2 separate regions of the Homo sapiens genome follow, and region 1 is linked to region 2. The links are contacts of gene promoters, found by promoter capture Hi-C in blood cells and fetal thymus (Javierre and others, 2016). All regions are on one chromosome and are shown on one strand. Each heading gives the region's core, a stretch centred on a gene start or on the middle of the fragment in contact. The rest is flanking DNA. Distances are from core to core; before and after follow the strand shown. Region 1 holds the start of SNHG12 (small nucleolar RNA host gene 12). Region 2 holds the start of PHACTR4 (phosphatase and actin regulator 4).

Region 1 (5,097 bases), core at 1,361-3,860, 210 kb before region 2:
AGGATGGAGGGGTGCTGTATCAAAATAGGATGGCCTGAGGAGGTGACGTGTGGACAGAAACCCAGGGGAAGTGAGGCTTAAGAAGTGTGATTGTCTGTGATATTCAGGTGGGGCGAGTTCCAGGCAAGAGCAAAGGCCCTGGGGTGCTTCAAGAAGAGCAAAGAGTCCAGGAAGATGGAGCTGACTGAGTGAGGGAGCAAGTGGTGCGTGATGAGGGCAGGAAGGAGGAGGAGCCTGATCACGTATGACCTTGGAGACCATTATGGAGATTGCCGTTTTTATTCTAAGTGTGTTGGGAAGTCATGGGAGATTTCTGAGCAAGTGAATAACATGATATAAATGTTTTTTAGGCCTGGCTCATGCCTGTAATCCCAGCACTTTGGGAGGCCAAGCAGGTAGGTCACCTGGGGTCGGGAGTTCAAGACCAGCCTGACCAACATGGAGAAGCCCCGTCTCTACTAAAAATACAAAAAATTAGCCGGGCCTGGGGCAGGTGCTGTAATCCCAGCTACTCAGGAGGCTGAGGCAGGAGAATCACTTGAACCTGGGAGGTACAGGTTGCAGTGAGCCGAGATCGTGCCATTGCACTCCAGCCTGGCAACAAGAGGGAAACTCCGTCTCAAAAAAAAAAAGTTTTAAAAAATACATGTTACTTATTTATTTACTTTTATTTTATTATTACTTTTGAGATGGAATATTGATCTGTTGCCCAGACTGGAATGCAGTGGCACGATCTCGGTTCACTGCAACCTCTGCCTCAGCCTCCCGAGTAGCTGGGATTATAGGCGCCCGCCACCATGTCTGGTTAATTTTTTATATTTTTAGTAGAGACGGGGTTTCACCATCTTGGCCAGGCTGGTCTTGAACTCCTGATCTCGTGACCCACCCGCCTTGGCCTCCCAAAGTGCTGGGATTACAGGCATGAGTTACTGTGCCTGGCCTTATTTATTTTTAAAGGCAGGGTCTCACTTTGTTGCCCAGGCTGACCTCCAGCTCCTGGACAGAAGTGATCCTCCTGTTTCAGCTTCCCAAGTAGCTGGACTACAGGTGATCCACTGCATCTGCCTTAATATAATATGTATATCTATCTATCTATATATACACACACATAGATATAGATAGATATATATAGATATATTTTTTGAGAGGGAGTCTCGCTGTATCACCCAGGCTGGAGTGCAGTGGCATGATCTTGGCTCACTGCAACCTCTGCCTCCCAGGTTCGAGCGATTCTTATGCCTTAGCCTCCCAAGTAGCTGGGACTGTAGATGAGTGTCACCATGCCTGGGTAATTTTTTTTTTTTGTATTTTTAGTAGAGATGGGGTTTTGTCATGTTGGCCAGGCTGGTCTCTAGTTCCTGATGTCAGGTAATCCACCTGCCTTGGCCTCCCGAATTGGTGGGAGCTACTGCGCCTGGGAGATATACATTTTTTCTTAATGGTTTTTTGACAGCTTTATTGAGGCATAATTGACACAGAATAAACTGCACAAGCCTGGGCGAAAAAGCGAGACTTCATCTCCAAAAAAAAAAAAAAAAGTTTAATAATTTTACTTTTTTTCTTTTTTTTTTGAGACGGAGTCTCGCTCTTGTCGCCCAGGCTGGAGTGTAATGGCTCCATCTTAGCTCACTTCAACCTCCGCTTCCCAGGTTCAAACGATTCTCCTGCCTCAGCCTCCCAAGTAGCTGGGATTACAGGCGCCTGCCACCACGCCCAGCTAATTTTTGTATTTTTAGTAGAAACGGGTTTTCACCATGTTGGCTAGGCTGGACTTGAAATCCTGACCTCAGGTTATCTGCCCCCTCGGACTCCCAAAGTGCTGGAATTACAGGTGGGAGCCACCGCGCCCAGCATAATTATTAAGCTTTTAAAGCGTAAACAAACGGCCGGGCGCGGTGGCTCGTGCCTGTAATCCCAGCACTTTGGGAGGCCGAGGCGGGTGGATCACGAGGTCAGGAAATCGAGACCATCCTGCCCAACATGGGGAAACCCTGTCTCTACTAAAAATACAAAAAATTAGCCGGGCGTGGTGGCGGGCGCCTGTAATCCCAGCTACTTGGGAGGCTGAGGCAGGAGAATGGCGTGAACCCGGGAGCGGGAGCTTGCAGTGAGCTGAGATGGCGCCACTGCACTCCAGCCTGGGCGACAGAGCAGCTCCGTCTCAAGAAAAAAAAAAAAAAGCATAAACTACAAAAAAAAAAATTGACTCTTAGACTTCATAAAAATTAAAAAACTTTTAGCAGGCTGGCTGGCGTGTGGAGACCAGACTGTCGGGAGCAACAGCAGGATCTGGGAGATAAGAGACTATTGCTATCATCTGGGTCAACGATTAGGGTAACATCAGTGGAAGGGGTAAGAAACAGTCAGATTATTGATACATTTTAAAGGTAGAGCACACAGGAGTTGCTGATGGCTTGGACATGTGATGTTAGAGAAAGAGAGGAGTCCAGGACCACAGGCATGCGCCCCCACGACCTGCTAAAGTAGTACTTACTTTTTATTTTATTTTATTTTTTTGAGACAGAGTCTCGTTCTGTTGCCCAGGCTAGAGTGCAGTGACGCGATCTCGGCTCTCTGCAAGCTCCGCCTCCCGGGTTCACGCCATTCTCCTGCCTCAGCCTCCCGGGTAGCTGGGACTACAGGCGCCCGCGACCACGCCCGGCTAATTTTTTTTTGTATTTTTTTTTAGTAGAGACCGGGTTTCGCCGTGTTAGCCAGGATGGTCTCGATCTCCTGACCTCGTGATCCACCCGCCTTGGCCTCCCAAAGTGCTGGGATTACAGGCGTGAGTAACCGCACCCGGCAGTAGTACCTACTTTTTAAAGTGTAAGCAAGGAAAGTTGGCCCGCACCTGTAGTCCCATCTACCTGGGAGGCTGAGGTGGAAGAATTGCTTGAGCCCAGTTGGTCGAGGCTGCAATGAGCCTTGATCACGCCACTGCACTCCAGCCTGGGCAACAGAACAAGACCCTGTCTCAAACAAAAAAGTGTATGTAAGAATAAAAATTAATAGATTAGGCACAGGATGGGTGTTTAATTCTCGGCAATCACCACTAAGTTTTCATACTGAGGCTTATTCATTCCATGGGCAAAACATTGCGCTATGTGTGGTGCCTGGGGTGGGCTCCAAATTCCAGTCCTCTCCTCGCTTGCGATAGCTGTGTGATCCATTCCTAAGTTTCCTTATTTGTCCACAGAGCGTACACAGGGTTTTTATGAAAACTAGATCAGATAATCAGACACAGTTAAAATAGCACGCGCTCAGTAAAATTACATATTAGTGGAAGAGACAAGCCTTGAATAAATCGCCTTTCGGGGAGTATGACCCCCTCCCCGAAACCCACTCAGGCGCTGCTCGCTCGCACGCCCACTGAGCTCGGAGCGGAGCCCGAGCCCTTTCCCAGCACACAGGGTTCATTTCCAGACTGAAAGACATCCCAGAGACAACTCCAGAGGCCAAGGCGGGTCGGCTTCCTGCGTGGGCCCAGCGCCGGGCACTGAAAGGTGAAGGCGCTTCTTCCGCTCGGAGGAAAGCCTCTGGCGGTTCTCGCTTCGCGGGCTCGGGATGGACACGCGCGTAGGGCTGGGGAGGTGACGCGCGGACAACGCCGGGGCGAGCAAACTACAACTCCCAGGCAGCTGTGCGCCACGCGGGCGGCCTACTGTCGGGTGTGGCCGCGAGGGGCGGCCTATATAAGCTCTTGCTCGCGGCTTCAGCGCCCTTTCTCCCCGCCGCATTCCCGGTGTCGACTTACTAGCTGCAAGCCTCTGCCTGCCTTCCTGCGCGCCGTTCCCCGCTAGTCGCTGCTGCTGGCGCGCACTCGCCGGGTTTTTCCTCCCACGGCCTCGAGATGGTGGTGAATGTGGCACGGAGGAGCCGGGCCTTCCAACCCGGTGGGCCCGAGCTCCGAAAGGCCCCCTCGGCAGTGAGAGGGGCGGGAGCCCGCGGGGGCCGCGCCCTTCTCTCGCTTCGGACTGCGCAACGCTGCGCTCTGGGCTGACAGGTGAGTGTTGCAGGCAGGCGGCCGGGTTTACGGAAGGGGTGGGGGTTTGGGAACCGGTCTCCTGGGGGATGCGGGGATGAATCCCTGGGCCTGAAGTGTCTTAATTCAGGGGGAGGCCGCATGCTGGTGTCAGGATGGCCTCCAGTTGAATCTGTGACATTTACCAGCTAGGTGATTTTGGGACTGGTGACTACGCGCGAGACCTCTGGAGGTCGCCCTGGTAGACACGGTTTTCAGAAGGACGGGTTTTAGGCATTCAGACCCTTGCGTGCATCCCAGCTTGTTGCTTTCAGCCTCGCTAAGTGACTAAGCGACCTTCAGGAAGTAACTTAATCGGTCTAAACCTCTTACCTGTAATAGGCGGATAAAACGGTCCCATCAAGACTGAGAAAAAGCACACCAGCTATTGGCACAGCGTGGGCAGTGGGGCCTACAGGATGACTGACTTAGTCTACAGAGATCCCGGCGTACTTAAGCAGGTAGTAATGATGGACAGGTGAGGCTTTAGGCGGCCGCCCTGGGATCTGAATTGCCCCTTGGCCCTTATCGAAGCTGCAGCTGCTTCCGCATAGCTGCTGTGGTCAAAAAGGAGCCCAGAGTGACAGTTTTCCTTGACGGTCGCCGTTCTGTTTGTTGTAACTGATCTGCAACATTTTGGGAAAATACAGTTCCATTGTACCTGCCACCTTTCAGCTGTAGCCAGAGACCTTTATCAAAATGGGCTTGTTTCCACAGAACAGCAGAACGGTTGGGGGTTTGCATGTACAGTTAACCAGCATAAGACTCGTACTGGGAAAATCCAGCTGGGATGTGACACAGCTTAACTGATAGCTTAAGGCATCAGTATTGGGACCAAAGGCTGGTCAGATTTGTATCATTCTGAGGACCAAATGATGGGAACAATAAAATTGTTCATGACAGTTGTTCTCATTTTGCTGTCCAGATGAAGACTCTTAAGATGACAGAAGGTGATTTTTCTGGTGATCGAGGACTTCCGGGGTAATGACAGTGATGAAATGCAGGGGACCTGGTAGGTTTCTTTTGGAGACTAACTGGGGGCTGCCTGGTGGGACAGAACAGCATGTTTCCAAGGG
Region 2 (5,660 bases), core at 1,437-3,936:
AATCTAGGATTCTCAAGAGTAAGTCACTTCCATTATGAGATATCAAACAAAGTAATACAGGGTGAAGGGCTTTATTTTGCCTACTCGGCTAGGGCAGGAATTAACCTATCTAACTTCAGTAACCTTCCCTGATTCATGTAAAGGGGTCCTCCTGGCTGTCCTCATCCCAGAGACTTGAAACACGAATTAACCTATTTTTCAAAAGGGTTATTTGCAATGACCTTCTTTAGAATTTTTTATTGGCCAGGCACGGTGGCTCACACCTGTAATCCCAGCACTTTGGGAGGCGGAGGCAGGTAAATTACTTTAGGTCAGGAGTTCCAGACCAGCCTGGCCAACACGGTGAAACACCATCTCTACTAAAAAAAAAAAAAAAATTAGCCGGGAGTGGTGGCACATGCCTGTAATTCCAGCTACTCGGGAGGCTGAGGCAGGAGAATCGCTTGAAACCAGGAGGAAGAGGTTGCAGTGAGCCAAGATCACGCCACTGCACAGCCTGAGCAACAGAGCAAGACTCTATCTCAAAAAACAAATACAGTATTCTTTATCTTAAGGTTTAATACCAGCACTTTGGGAGGGAGGATCACTTGAGCCCAGGAGTCCAAGACCAGCCTGGGCAACAGAGTGGGACCCCAATCAATACAAAAATTTTTTTAAAAATTTTTTTAATTAGCTGCGCTGGTGGCCTGTGTCTGTTGTCCCAGCTACTCTGGAGGCAGAGGCTTGAGCCCAGGAGGAGGTCCAGGCTGCAGTGAGCAGTGCTCAACTCACTGCACTCCAGCCTGGGAAACCCAGCGAGACCCTATTTCAAAAAATAAATACATAAAAATTGGCCAGGCACGGTGGCTCACGCTTGTAATCCCAGCACTTTGGGAGACCGAGGCGGGTGGATCACCTGAGGTTAGGAGTTCAAGGCCAGCCTGGCTAACATGGTGAAACCTTGTTTCTACCAAAAATACAAAAACTAGCTGGGCATGGTGGCACACACCTGTAATCCCAGCTACTCAGGAGGCTGAGGCAGGAGAATCGCTTCAACCTGGGAAGTGGAGGTTGCAGTGAGCCAAGATCGTGCCATTGCATTCCAGCCTGGGTAACAAAGTGAGATTGTCTCAAAATAAATAAATAAATATAAATAAATTAAATTAAATAGTCGGGCACAGTGGCTCATGCCTCTAGTCCCAGGCATCTGGGAGCCTCTGGTGGAAGGATGGCTTAAGCCAAGAAGTTCGAGGCTACAGTGAACTAGGAGCTCTCCACTGTACTCAAGCTTCAGCAACCAAGCTAGACTCTTGTCTCTTAAATGAAACAAACAAACAAATTTTACCTTAAGCTGATTCTAGCAATGCAGTCTTCCAACAGGAGGACATACACAGTTACCATTATCTAGCCAAATTTGATCGAATCCACAATCCACGCAGTTCCGCGGTTTCCGGTAAGAATCTACCACACCTCATCCCCTAAACTGGCTTCATTTCTAAACGGGCTTCATTCCTTTTTTTTTTAAGATGGGGTCTTGCTGTGTTGCCCAGGCTGGTCGCGAACTTCTGGCCTCAAGCGATTCTCCTGCCTCAGCCTCCAGAATAGTTGGCATTACAGGCGCGCGCCACCACGCCCGAAATTCATTTCTTTAATTTGGCGAAAAAGTAAGTGACTTCTAGAAGCCACTGGGTTTCTGGTTCCTCTATAAAGCAAATTCTTCCACTGAAGGACTTTTTCCTTCCACTGTTTGTTTTAAAAAGAACAAGAAAAGGAAGAGGTTGGAAGGAGCGAGGAGCTGAGTGTCCGAATGAAGCACTGGAGGGTTTTTTTTTTTTGCAAGCAATCAGTGATGCCCTGTAAGTCACTCTCCTCCGAGATTTGGGAGGTGCGTGAACTGCCATTCTACCATTCACCACTGGTTCTTTGGTCCACCGATCACAGATGTGAGCTGCACAGACATCGCAGCAAATTCGATGCCTTCCCGGTTTCCCGGAGCCGGGGTGTAGAGGGTGGGAGAGAGGGGTCGCTTCTTTTCCTTAATCTCATCTCTCCACCAAGAAAAACGTCGGGAGTTTCGTGCCCTGAAGCCGCCCAGGCTGATGTTTGAAAGTTAAATAATAACCTCCAGGTTTTTACAGAAACTCCGCCTGGCTCCGAAGCCCCCGTTCTGCCCAGCAGGGGTGCAGAGGTCTGAGGCAGGACGGTTTTGAAAAATGTACTTTGACCCGATCCGGTTACTGTAACCGGATCCCCAGGGAGCAGTCCCTGTTGGGGACCGGGGGAACAGGCTCCCCCGTGGCGGAGACTCCATGCACGGACACAAAGGGGGAGCAACGCAGCCCAGACAAAAGGGCCCAGCCAAGTCTCGGGGGGCGGAGAGGGCGAGCCTGCGCGGGCCCTGCCTCAGGCGGAGAAGCCCGGGTTGGACCGTTGTGGGAGGGCCGAGGAGGGAGGCGGCGGCCCCGCCCCGCCCTGGCCCGAAGCGACGGCGACCCGGGCCGTTACCTTCTGCCCGGACCGGGACCCTCTCGCAGAGCCAAGAAAGGGGCCGCAGCCTGAGAGGAGGCCGCAGCCTGATACTGAGCGCGTCCTGCTCACTTTCCCTTGCTCGCTGAACTTACCCAGATCTCCGCCGCCGCCTCCTCAGCCTCCACAGCAGCCTCTCCCGGAAATCCTACCTGGCCCGTTGGCCGCCAGGCAGCAGCCGGAGCCCTTGGCCCCCGGGGAGGGGGAAAAAGGGAGCCGGCTGGACAGTGTAGGGTAGGACGTGCCGCCGCGGAGGCTTACGGGACTTGTAGTCCCCAGCAGGGGCCGGTTGCCCGGCAAGCTGAACAAAATGGCGGGAAGCGTGCGTCCTTTCTCTCCGGGCGGTCGTCCTCCTTACGACCTCTCTGGGCATGCGCTGGCCGCTCTGCGCACCTTGTGTGTAAAAGAACTTGGGCACCTTTCCTGGTACTATGGGAGGCAAAGGTCTTTGGGCTTGGGAGGACAGGGTTCAATACTGGGCTCCAGGCAGTACCCAAAAAGGGAACTGATACAAGAGTGTTGTTTGAGAAAACTGTATCCCTGACTGGCCAAATTTCAATCATAACCTCCCCAAAGGAAAAACTATTTATTGAGGACCAATTTGAAGTGCAAAAAACGTACAAGCAAGTTATCTACCCTCAGTGTTGTGCGTAAGAAACCCAGGAATCATTCTGGACACTTCCCTCAAGCCATTAAGTCCAGTCATTCTACATCCCCAGTATTTTAATTCATTTCGATATCCTTCACTACTATCACCTAGTGAAAGCCACCATCACTTCTCTCCAAGTCTCAGTAGTTTCAGGCCCTAGGCTATCACCCTCCGAAAACCTTCCTTGCTGCTGCCAGAGGACCCTTCTAAATGCAAACCCATTGTATCACACAACCTAAATTAGACCTACATGTAAAACTTGAAGCTACGGCACATCTAGAGGACATTCCAGGAGAAAAATCGATGTGACTTTTCAAATACACTATCCATAAAATTAAAAAAATTGGCCAGGCGCGGTGGCGCATGCCTGTAATCCCAGCTACTCAGGAGGCTGAGGCAGGAGAATCGCTTGAACCCAGGAGGCGGAGGTTGCAGTGAGCCGAGATCTTGCCATTGCAGTCCAGCCTGGGCGACAGAGCAAGACTCCGTCGCAAAACAAACAAACAAACAAACAAACAAATTATCCGGGGCCTAGTGCCAAGCTCCTGTAGTCCCAGCTACGTGGGAGGCTGAGGTGAGATGATCACTTGAGCCTGGGGGGTCGAGATCGCACCAGTGCACTCCAGCCTGGGCAGCAGAGCAAGACCCTGTCTCAATAGAAAAAGAAAAAAGAAGAAAAAAAAATTGGCCGGGTGCAGTGGCTCACACCTCTCATCCCAGCACTTTGGGAGGCTAAGGCGGGAGGATCCCTTGAGCCCTGGAGTTTGAGACCAGCCTGCCAGCCTGGGCAACAGAGTGAGGCCCCATCTCTACAAAAACAATTTTAAAAATTAGCTGGGCATGATGGAACGTGCCTGTAGTCCCAGGTACTCAGGAGGCTGAAATAGGAGGATTATTTGAGCTGGGGAGGTCCAGGCTGCAATGAGCTGTGATGGTGTCGCTACACTCCAGCCTGGACGACAGAGGGAGACCTTGTCTCAAAAAAATATTTAAAATATATTTATTGGCCTGGCACGGTGGCTCACGCCTGTAATCCCAGCACTTTGTGAGGTTGAGGCTGGTAGATCACCTGAGGTCAGGAGTTCGAGACCAGCCTCTCCAAAATGGTGAAACCACATCTCTACTAAAAATACAAAAATTGGCCGGGCACGGTGGCTCACACTTGTAATCCCAGCACTTTGGGAGGCTGAGGCGGGCGGGTCACGAGGTCAGGATATCGAGACCATCCTGGCTAACGCAATGAAACCCTGTCTCTACTAAAAATACAAAAAATTAGCCGGGCGTGGTGGAGGGCGCGTGTAGTCCCAGCAACTCGGGAGGCTGAGGCAGGAGAATGGCGTGAACCCGGGAGGCAGAGCTTGCAGTGATCTGAGATCGCGCCACTGCACTCCAGCCTGGGCAACAGAGCGAGATCCCGTCTTAAAAAAAAAAAATACAAAAATTTATTGGGCGTGATGGCCCACCCCTGTAATCCCAGCTACTCAGGAGGGTGAGGCAGGAGAAGCGCTTGAACCCAGGAGGCGGAGGTTTCAGGGAGCCGAGATCGCACCATTGCACTCCAGCCTGGGTTACAAGAGGGAAACTCAGTCTCAAAAATAAAATTAAAAAATATATTTTTTTAAATTAATAGGCTACACATGATAACTCATGCCTGTAATTCCAGCACTCTGGAAGGCCAAGGCTGGAGGGCTGGTTGAGACCATGGGTTCAAGACCAGCCTGGGCAACACAGTGAGACTCCATCTCTAAAATATAAATAAATAAATTTTAAAAAGAAAAAAATTGCCGGGCGTGGTGGCTCACGCCTGTAATCCTAGCACTTTGGGAGGCCGAGGCAGGTGGATCACAAAGTCAGGAGATTGAGACCATCCTGGCTAACACGGTGAAACCCCATCTCTACTAAAAATACAAAAAATTAGCTGGGCGCGATGGCGGGCTCCTGTAGTCCCAGCTACTCGGGAGGCTGAGGCAGGAGAATGGCGTGAACCCGGGAGGCAGAGCTTGCAAGTGAGCCGAGATCTTGCCACTGCACTCCAGCCTGGGCAACAGAGCGAGACTCCGTCTCAAAAAAAAAAAAAAGAAAAGAAAAGAAAAGAAAAAAATTGAATAAATTGTATATCATCAAAATTTCAAACTTTAGTCAAGACTGTTATGAAAATAAAGATAAAACCGGGCGCGGTGGCTCACGCCTGTAATCCCAGCACTTTGGGAGTCCGAGGTGGGCAGATCACGAAGTCAGGAGATCGAGACCATCCTGGCTAACACAGTGAAACCCCGTCTCTACTAAAAATACAAAAAATTAGCCGGGCGTGGTGGTGGGCGCCTGTGGTCCCAGCTACTCGGGAGGCTGAGGCAGGAGGATGGTGTGAACCTGGGAGGCAGAGCTTGCAGTGAGCGGAGACTGTGCCACTGCACTCCAGCCTGGGCGACAGAGCGAGACTCCGTCTCAAAAAAAAAAAAAAAAAAAAGAAAAGAAAGATAAGCTGGCCAGGCTCAGTGACTCACCC

The links. Contacts are between HindIII fragments. The CHiCAGO score rates a contact against its expected background, and 5 or more counts as called.
Region 1: a contact is called between the fragment with the promoter of SNHG12 here and the fragment with the promoter of PHACTR4 in region 2, in 15 of 17 cell types (fetal thymus, endothelial precursors, erythroblasts and 12 more). The highest score is 17.1, in fetal thymus.

What each region holds. Positions count from the first base shown.
Region 1 is chr1:28,580,496-28,585,592 of GRCh38, reverse strand. SNHG12 (small nucleolar RNA host gene 12) reads left to right here and starts at 2,610. Exons shown (of 6, transcript NR_146382.1): 1 at 2,610-3,503; 2 at 4,364-4,482; 3 at 4,947-5,033. It overlaps SNORA44 (small nucleolar RNA, H/ACA box 44), which reads left to right and starts at 5,081; the gene lies at 5,081-5,097. SNORA16A (small nucleolar RNA, H/ACA box 16A) reads left to right here and starts at 4,540; the gene lies at 4,540-4,673. RefSeq lists enhancers at 3,443-4,228, 4,229-5,014. The HindIII fragment of the contact is 3,732 bases long and covers 1,867-5,097 here.
Region 2 is chr1:28,366,766-28,372,425 of GRCh38, reverse strand. It overlaps PHACTR4 (phosphatase and actin regulator 4), which reads right to left and starts at 2,686. Exons shown (of 14, transcript NM_001048183.3): 1 at 2,601-2,686. RefSeq lists a silencer at 2,313-2,532 and enhancers at 2,614-2,908, 2,559-3,514. The HindIII fragment of the contact is 7,867 bases long and covers 1,270-5,660 here.